Linked DNA regions of Homo sapiens: all the other regions are linked to region 2. The links are contacts of gene promoters, found by promoter capture Hi-C in human tissues and cell types (Jung and others, 2019). All regions are on one chromosome and are shown on one strand. The core of a region is centred on a gene start or on the middle of the fragment in contact, and the rest is flanking DNA. Distances in the headings are between cores, read along the strand shown.

The links. Contacts are between HindIII fragments. The study calls those that stand out against the background at their distance.
Region 1: a contact is called between the fragment with the promoter of MYOZ1 here and the fragment with the promoter of ECD in region 2, in 1 of the 25 tissues and cell types used here (adrenal gland).
Region 3: a fragment that was not itself captured here is called in contact with the fragment with the promoter of ECD in region 2 in 1 of the 25 tissues and cell types used here (hippocampus).

The regions. Positions count from the first base shown.
Region 1 is chr10:73,640,207-73,642,906 of GRCh38, forward strand. It overlaps MYOZ1 (myozenin 1), which reads right to left and starts at 1,268. Exons shown (of 6, transcript NM_021245.4): 1 at 1,205-1,268. The HindIII fragment of the contact is 11,584 bases long and covers 1-2,700 here.
Region 2 is chr10:73,166,726-73,169,425 of GRCh38, forward strand. ECD (ecdysoneless cell cycle regulator) reads right to left here and starts at 1,283. Exons shown (of 14, transcript NM_007265.3): 1 at 1,141-1,283. It overlaps FAM149B1 (family with sequence similarity 149 member B1), which reads left to right and starts at 1,394. Exons shown (of 14, transcript NM_173348.2): 1 at 1,394-1,661. The coding sequence starts at 1,615. RefSeq lists enhancers at 1,102-1,701, 1,208-1,407, 2,302-2,700 and a silencer at 1,458-1,647. The HindIII fragment of the contact is 5,079 bases long and covers 1-2,700 here.
Region 3 is chr10:73,620,833-73,623,532 of GRCh38, forward strand. It overlaps a transcript of USP54 not described here. Among named protein-coding and RNA genes, the nearest start is that of MYOZ1, 19 kb to the right of the region's middle. The HindIII fragment of the contact is 4,845 bases long and covers 1-2,700 here.

The DNA.
Region 1 (2,700 bases), core at 18-2,517, 470 kb after region 2:
GGCACAATCATGCCTCACTGCAGCCTCAACCTCCCTGGGCTCAGGTGATCCTCCAACTTCAGCCTCCCAAGTAGCTGGGACTATAGGTGCGCACCACCGTGCCTGGCTAATTTTTGTATTTTTTGTAGAAATGTGGTTTTGCCATGTTGCCCAGGCTGGTCTCAAACTCCTGGGCTCAAGCAGTCCTCCTGCCTCCCAAAGTGCTGAGATTACAGGGGTGAGCCACTTCACCTGACCCAGATTTTCAAAGAAGCATGTATTTCCCCAAAAGGTGAAAACTTGCGCTTTAGGGCTTCTCTTTTCTTGGGATACAGGACAGGAAGTATAGATGCACACCAGCCCCTGTTGTCTACCAACCTGTTGTGAGCTGTTTTTCATAGAGTCAGTGCAGGAATTAGGAACATAGCTAGGTGTGGGGAGTGTTTAAAAAACAATAACACAAGCAGGGCAATGCACCCAGGTTTCATTGGCTTGGCATGATTTGAAGTTTTTATTTGCACTGGGATATCAGACTGGGGCTGTGATTCCAGGCTCTGGTCTCTCCTCAGTCTTCCCCCAGTCCCCAGGAGGACAGAGAAATATTCTGCCAGGGTTGAGGAGATTCAGCCAAAAACACTCTCCATAGGAAGGAGAGGTTGTTGCTCCTTCATCAGGCCAGCTGGAACATGGCCTGGGAAGTCATGGCCCTGCTCCTGCAATCACTCCCGCCACAGACCCCAGAGTGGAGGCAGGTGTGGAACTGGGAAGGGTAGGGAGCATTCAAATCCCGACACGTCAATTCAGCAATATCATAGCAGTGGGGAATTGAGGTGGGGCAGAAACATAGTAATAGGATCTGGCAATGGAAAGGGACAAACTGGGATAAGATGGACTCCAATCCCTTCTTAAGAGAAGTTGGCACTCAGTGAAATGCTGTCCTCTTCTAAGTCCTGTCTCAAAAAATACATCTGCAACTCTACTGACTTAGTGGGGTCTCCCTTCCCATTCTTCCAGTGCCTCCCCCGACATCTCCATTCCCCCCAACCTCCTGGGCCCCTCTCCTTCCAACTCTCCTTCCCCTCTCCTTCCAACTGGACAGCTGGGAGCTGAGCATAGATGAGGAGAGGGGAGACTCCCCCAGGATCAAGAATCACAATTGTAGACACAGACACAGAAGTCAACACAGTGGGCTCCAGCCTTTCTAACGATAGAGCTGGAGACTTACCGGCTGCTCGGGCAGTGGTCAGCTCTCCCTGGGGTCCAGCAGCTTTGGAGGACTGAGCTGCTGTGACCGGAGAACACGAGCTGGGCAGGCGTGGGGGCAGCACTGGCAGTGGGGGAGGGAAGTTGGTTATTAATAGAGATGATGAGCGCAAGCAGCTCAAATGGCACAGGGGGTACTGAGACCCTGGAACCAAGATCCCTCCCTCCTTGCCCGGAGGCTCAGGAAGGAGGGAAAAGGCCTTTGGGATTCTCCCACTGAACTGTCTGAGCCAGGGATCAGTCTGCCCAGGGACTCCCCTTCACATTGCACCTAGAGCCTGAGATCCAAAGAAGCACTTAGGGAGAAACTGAAGACTGAGAGGGAGACAGGAAGTAGACAGCAAGTATTGGATAGGAATTCAGTCAGAGAGAGAGAGTCTGGGGAACATGCCCTGAGGGCCACACAGAGCCAATCCAGGGCAGAGTGGAGAGACCTGTGGGTGTATTTGGAGCAGGGAGGGCTTAAAGTGCTATATTTGGGGACAAAAAGGGAAGTCTTCACAGTGGAACTGCTCTTTTAAAGTTCCTGGATAGGTTGGTCTTTTCTCGGTAAGGGCTAGATCTTGGCAGGTTAAGGGACCAAATTAACTAAACCCAGTACCTCCTACAAAGGAATGATGTGGGGAAGACTTGACAATTATTCTGTCTGCCTCACTCCCTATTCTTTCCTCTTGAGCTCTGGCAGTTTTAATAAAAGACAAACACTTGGATCTGCATTTTTTTTTTTTTTTTTTTGAGATGGAGTTTCGCTCTTTTTGCCCAGGCTGGAGTGCAGTGGTGCGATCTCGGCTCACTGCAACCTCCACCTCCTGGGTTCAAGCAATTCTCCTGCCTCAGCCTACTGAGTAGCTGGGATTACAGGTGTCCACCACCATGCCCGGCTAATTGTTGTATTTTTAGTAGAGACGGGGTTTCACCACGTTGGCCAGGCTGGTCTCAAACTCCTGACCTCAGGTGATCCACCCACATTGGCCTCGCAAAATGTTGGAATTACAGGCGTGAGCCACCGCCAGGATCTGGTCTCTAAGGAGTTATTCTCTAGCCACCACGCCCAGCCAGGATCTGCCTTTTAACCTCCATTTGCTGTTGAGATGCTCAGTTCAACCTGCTGTGCGGGATAGACATCGATGTCTCCCTGAGAAGCACATATAGGCTCTCTGAGGTTTCTTTTCTTCTTCTTTTTTTTTTTTTTTTTTGAGACGGAGTCTCGCTCTGTTGCCCAGGCTGGAGTGCAGTGGCGCAATCTCGGCTCACTGCAAGCTCCACCTCCCAGGTTCACGCCATTCTCCTGCCTCAGCCTCCCGAGTAGCTGGGACTACAGGCGCCCACCAACACGCCCGGCTAAATTTTTTTTTGTATTTTTAGTAGAGATGGGGTTTCACCGTGTTAGCCAGGATAGTCTCGATCTCCTGACCTCGTGATCCATCCATCTCAGCCTCCCGAAGTGCTGGGATTACA
Region 2 (2,700 bases), core at 33-2,532:
GGGTAGTTTGCAAATATTTTCTCCCATTCTGTGGGTTCTCTCTCCACTTTGTTGATTGTTTCCTTTGCTGTGCAGAAGCTTTTTAACTTGATGTGCTCCCATTTGTCCATTTTTGTTTTGGCTGCCTCTGTTTGTGAGGTATTACTCAGGAAATCTTTGCCCACTCTAATGTCCTAGAGAGTTTCCCCAATATTTCCTTTTAGTAGTTTCATAGTTTGAGGGCTTAGATTTAAGTCTCTAATCCATTTTGACTTGATTTTTGTATATGGTGGGAGGTAGTGGGTCTGGTTTCATTCTTCTGCATACGGGTATCAGTTTTCCCAGTATCATTTATTGAAGAGACTGTCTTTTCCCCAATGTATGTTTTTGGTACCTTTGCTGAAAATGAATTCACTGCAGACATATGGATTTGTTTCTGGGTTCTCTATTCTGTTCCTGTTTTTATGCCAGTGCCATGCTGTTTTGGTTACTATAACTCTGTTGTATAATCTGAAGTCGGGTAATGTGATGCTTCCAGTTTTGTTCTTTTTGCTCAGGATAGCTTTGGCTATTCTGGCTCTTTTGTGGTTCCATATAAATTTTAGGATCTTTTTTCTATGACTGTGAAGAATGTCACTGGTATTTTGATGGAGGTTGCATTGATACCTCTTAATTTTCTAAGGGTTTTCCTTATCTCTTAATTTTCTAAGGGTTTTCCTAAATAAGAGTACTAGTTTATTCTTGCTGCCAGGTGATGCTTGGTAAAGAAAGAAATGGCGGTGGATGGACCACCCTAACTCCATGATTCCAATCTTACTCAGCTTTCTAAGAGACTCGTAAGGAACCTGCTTCTTCTTATCCAGACACCCACTCACCACAGTCTAACCAAATCATCATTTTGCCTTTCAACCCAGAGGGACAGACAGTAATTTTACCCATCCACCCCATAACGCCAAACACACGTCATCATGCAGAATTTGGTGTCAGAACTGGAAGGGACTCTATGATCACTCAGGCTAATACCTCACTGTACATATGAGAAAACCCAGAGTACAGAAAAAGAAGCGACCAAGCAGCAGGGGCTTGACTTGGAGTCTAGTGCTCTTTCCCCAGTCTAGGCTCCCTCCTGCCATCTAACAAAATGAAGCCAATTTCTCTTACGGTTCTAGGGCCTCTCCTTCGCGTCTCTGCTGTGGCACCTTTCCTTAGCCGCCTCTCCGACTGCGAGAGCTGATCGAGAGCTGCCACCGGCCGCCGAAGCCTGGATCAGGCTCTGTCCCGACGCCTGACCGGAACCTGAAGCCAGCGGAAATCCTGAGAGAAAGTCTGAAACCCACTCAGTCCCCGAAACCTTGTGTGTCGTCACTGCTGTGCGTCGGCGGGAGCATTTTGCGAGTGTCCGGGGGCCTTCGTCACTTCCGCCCCCGCGGCAAAGCAGGGAGGTCGGAGGACTGGAGAGGTGGGGACCCTGGGGAGGTGGCTGCTCGGAGTCTAGGTGACGGGGCGAGACGGGGCCGGTAGGTGGCGGGAGGGGCCGGGCCGGAGCCGGCGGGAGGGCCAGGCCCGGAGGCCCCCACCCTGGCGTGCCTGCCCCGGCCGCGGCTGAGGAGGAGGAGGAGGAGGAGGAGGAGGAGGATGATCTCCAGATACACTCGGAAGGCGGTGCCACAGAGCTTGGAGCTGTGAGTGGACTGCTCAGCCACCCCAGCCGGGGCGGGCGGCGGGCGCTCTGGGGACCCTCCTTGACCAGTCCTTCGTTCCTTTCCTTTCCCAGGGCTGGGGAGAGATTTTTCTTCGGAATTCTCTCCTCTCAGCCCTGCTGGACCCTGCCCCTTCTTCCTCCATCTCCAGCTGAGGGCGTGTCGCCCTTCGTCTGAAATTCCTGAAATCAAGCACTGGGTCTGCTGAAGCATTTGTAGCATCCGCAGTGCTTCAGGTCCCATTGTTAATGGCCATGGTAGCTCGAGAAGTTATTAATAGCTAACTGAGGGCTCCAGGAAAGTGCTCACTTGACACTGTGCAAAGCTATTTACATACATTTGCTCATTCCTATCAATGATATCAGATTGGGAACATTATTTTGCACATTCTACAGATAAAGATCCCAGAATTAAAGATTGTAGCATGCCAAAGATCACACAGCTTGAAGGTGGTAGAGCTGAGAGGTACAAACCTGATGTCGATCTGATTCCGAAGCCTGTGGTCATAACCATCACACATACTGCCTCCCCACCTCTGCAATTAAGCACCAGAATCCATAAAGATCAGTTTTGCTTTTGAGACTTTAAAGAGCAAATATTTCTGGCTTTAAAAAGATCCACCCTCACGGCCGGCCGTGGTGGCTCACGCTTGTAATCCCAGCACTTTGGGAGGCTGAGGCGGGCGGATCACTTGAGGCCAGGAGTTCGAGACCAGCCTGGCCAACATGGCGAAACCCCATCTCTACTAAAAATGCAAAAAAAAAAAAAAAAATGGCCGGGCATGGAGGCGGGGGCCTGTAAACCCAGCTACTTGGGAGGATGAGGCAGGAGAATCACTTGAACCCGGGAGGCAGAGGTTGCAGTGAGCAGAGGTCACGCCATCGCACTCCAGTCTGGGTGACAAGAGTGAAACTCCGTCTCAAAATAAATAAATAAATAATAAAAAAATAAAAAGAGCTGCCCCCTACCCTGACCGAAGTGGTGTATAATAATTTAGAAAGTAATAATAGTGTCATACATT
Region 3 (2,700 bases), core at 68-2,567, 450 kb after region 2:
GGAGGCTGAGGCCAAGAGCAAAACTCTGTCTCAAACAAACAGGTCGGATGCGGTGGCTCACCACTGTAATCCCAGCACTTTGGGAGGCTGAGGCGGGTGGATCGCCCAAGGTCAGGAGTTGGAGACCACCCTGGCCAACATGGCGAAACCCCGTCTCTACTAAAAATACAAAAATTAGCTGAGCTCGGTGGCACGTGCCTGTAATCCCAGCTACTCAGGAGGCTGAGGCAGGAGAATCGCTTGAACCTGGTAAGCAGAGGTTGCAATGAGCCAAGATTGTGCCACTGCACTCCGGCCTGGGTGACAGAGCAAGACTCTGTCTCAAAAAACAAACAAATAATACAAAGATGTAAAATTTGAATTTCAACCAGAAAACCGTACTTTGGACTTTGGAATATAGAGTGAAAAAAAAAACCTGAAAGCAAATATATAAAAACATGTGACACATACATACATTTTTCTCAATATAAAAAAACTACAGTATGAAGGCGGGGCACAGTGGCTCACGCCTGTAATCCCAGCACGTTGGGAGGCCGAGACGGGAAGATCACAAGGTCAGGAGATCAAGACCATCCTGGCTAATATAATGAAACCCTGTCTCTACTAAAAATACAAAAAATAGCCGGGCATGGTGGCGGGCACCTGTAATCCCAGCTACTCAGGAGGCTGAGGCAGAAGAATGGCATGAACCCAGGAGGCGGAGCTTGCAGTGAGCCAAGATTGCGCCACTGTACTCCAGCCTGGGCGACACAGGGACACTCCGTCTCAAAAAAAAAAAAAAAAAAAACTACTGTATGAAAATATGTTTGACTAAATGCCTTAAAGTCTGTTGTAATAACATTTCCCCTATATATGAATACAGATAACCATTTCCACTACTAAAATGATCACTTGCTGGAAGCTTACAAATATATAATTGCTTGCTACAACTATTTTCCCAAGCATAGCTCCCTATACAATTATACACAGCAGAAATTTGGTAATTTACTCAATTCTCTATATAACAATACAAATTTTGTATTTAGCACCATGCTAACATTCACATTAGTTCCCCATAGGTAGTGTAAATATCTGAGGGAGAAAATGTATGAGTAAAAAAACAGATACCCCTATCCATTTATACCTTCCAAGTCCCACCCAGAATTCTGGTGTCCTGGCCAGTTCCACCTGCAACCTCTCCCCACTTCCTCCATACCAAGACTCCCTCCTTCCCTACAAAAGAAAGAAATCTTTCTTAGTATATTAGAATCACATAAATTTCCCACACCAATCTCTATTCTACCATCTACTAGCTCAATAATCTTTGGTAACTTCCTGAACTTTTTAAGCCTTGGTTTTCTTTAAAGTAACTAGTACCAGCTGCAGAGCAGAGTGTTGTTATAAGATAAAATGAGATAATGTGCCTGGCACATTAATAATCACTCAATGAATGTTATCTATTATTATTATTGCCTTAAGACTGTTGTAATATTTATTTATTTATTTATTTATTTATTTATTTATTTATTTTGAGACAGAATCTTGCCTGTTGCCTAGGTTGGAGTATAGTGGCATGATTTCGGTTCACTGTAACCTCCGCTTCCTGGGTTCAAGCGATTCTCCTGCCTCAGCCTCCCGAGTGGCTGGAATTACTGGCAGGCATCACCATGCCCAGCTAATTTTTGTATTTTTAGTAGAGATGGGGTTTCACCATGTTGGCCAGGCTGATCTCAAACTCCTGACCTCAACTGATCCGCCCACCTCAGCCTCCCAAAGTGCTGTGATGACAGGCCTGAGCTACCGTGCCTGGTCCGTATTTATTTACATCTACAGTAAAGGAGTACTAAAAAAGACTAATAGGACCAGCGAGGTGGCTCACGCCTATAATCCCAGCATTTTGGGAGGCTGAGGTGGGAGGATCACTTGAGCCCAGGTGCTTGAGATCAGCATGGGCAACATAGGGAGATCCTGTCTCTAGAAAAAGTACAAAAATTAGCCAAGCACCTGTAGTCCCAGCTCCTGGAGAGGCTGAAAAGCAAGAGGATTCCTTAAACCCAGGAGACTGAGGCTGCAGTGAGCCGTGATTACTCCACTGCACTCCAGCCTGGGCAACAGACAACTCGTCTTTAAAGAAAAAAAAAAAAAAGGGCTTAAATTATGAACTGACCAGTGAATTTTCTCCTCAAACTTCCATTCTTTTATCTCTTCTGAGAAACTTACTATGTGTTTCACTAAGGCAGCACAGTTTAGTTTGGTTAACACTTTGTAATTTTGAAAACTCTTAGGCTGGGCATGGTGGCTCAAGCCTGTAATCCCAGCGCTTTGGGAAGCCAAGCTGCCAAGGCAGGAGGATTGCTGGGTAACATAGCCAGACCAGCTTAGGCAACATAGCAAGACCTCGTCTCTACAAAAAAAATTTTAATAATTAACTGCGCGTGGTTGCATGCACCTGTGGTCCTATCTACTCAGGAGGCTGAGGTGGGAGGAAAGCTTGGGCCCAGGAGGTTGAGGTGGCAGTGAGCTGTGATGACACCACTGCATTCCAGCCTGGGCAACAGAGCAAAACCCTGTCTCAAAAAAAGAGAAAAGAAAATTCTTACTTTGGGAGGCTGAGGCAGGAGTATCACTTGAGCCCAGGAGTTTGAGACCAGCCTGGCAACATAGCAAGACCCCATCTCTAAAAATAAATCAGCTGGGCATGGTGGCCCTCACCTGTAGTCT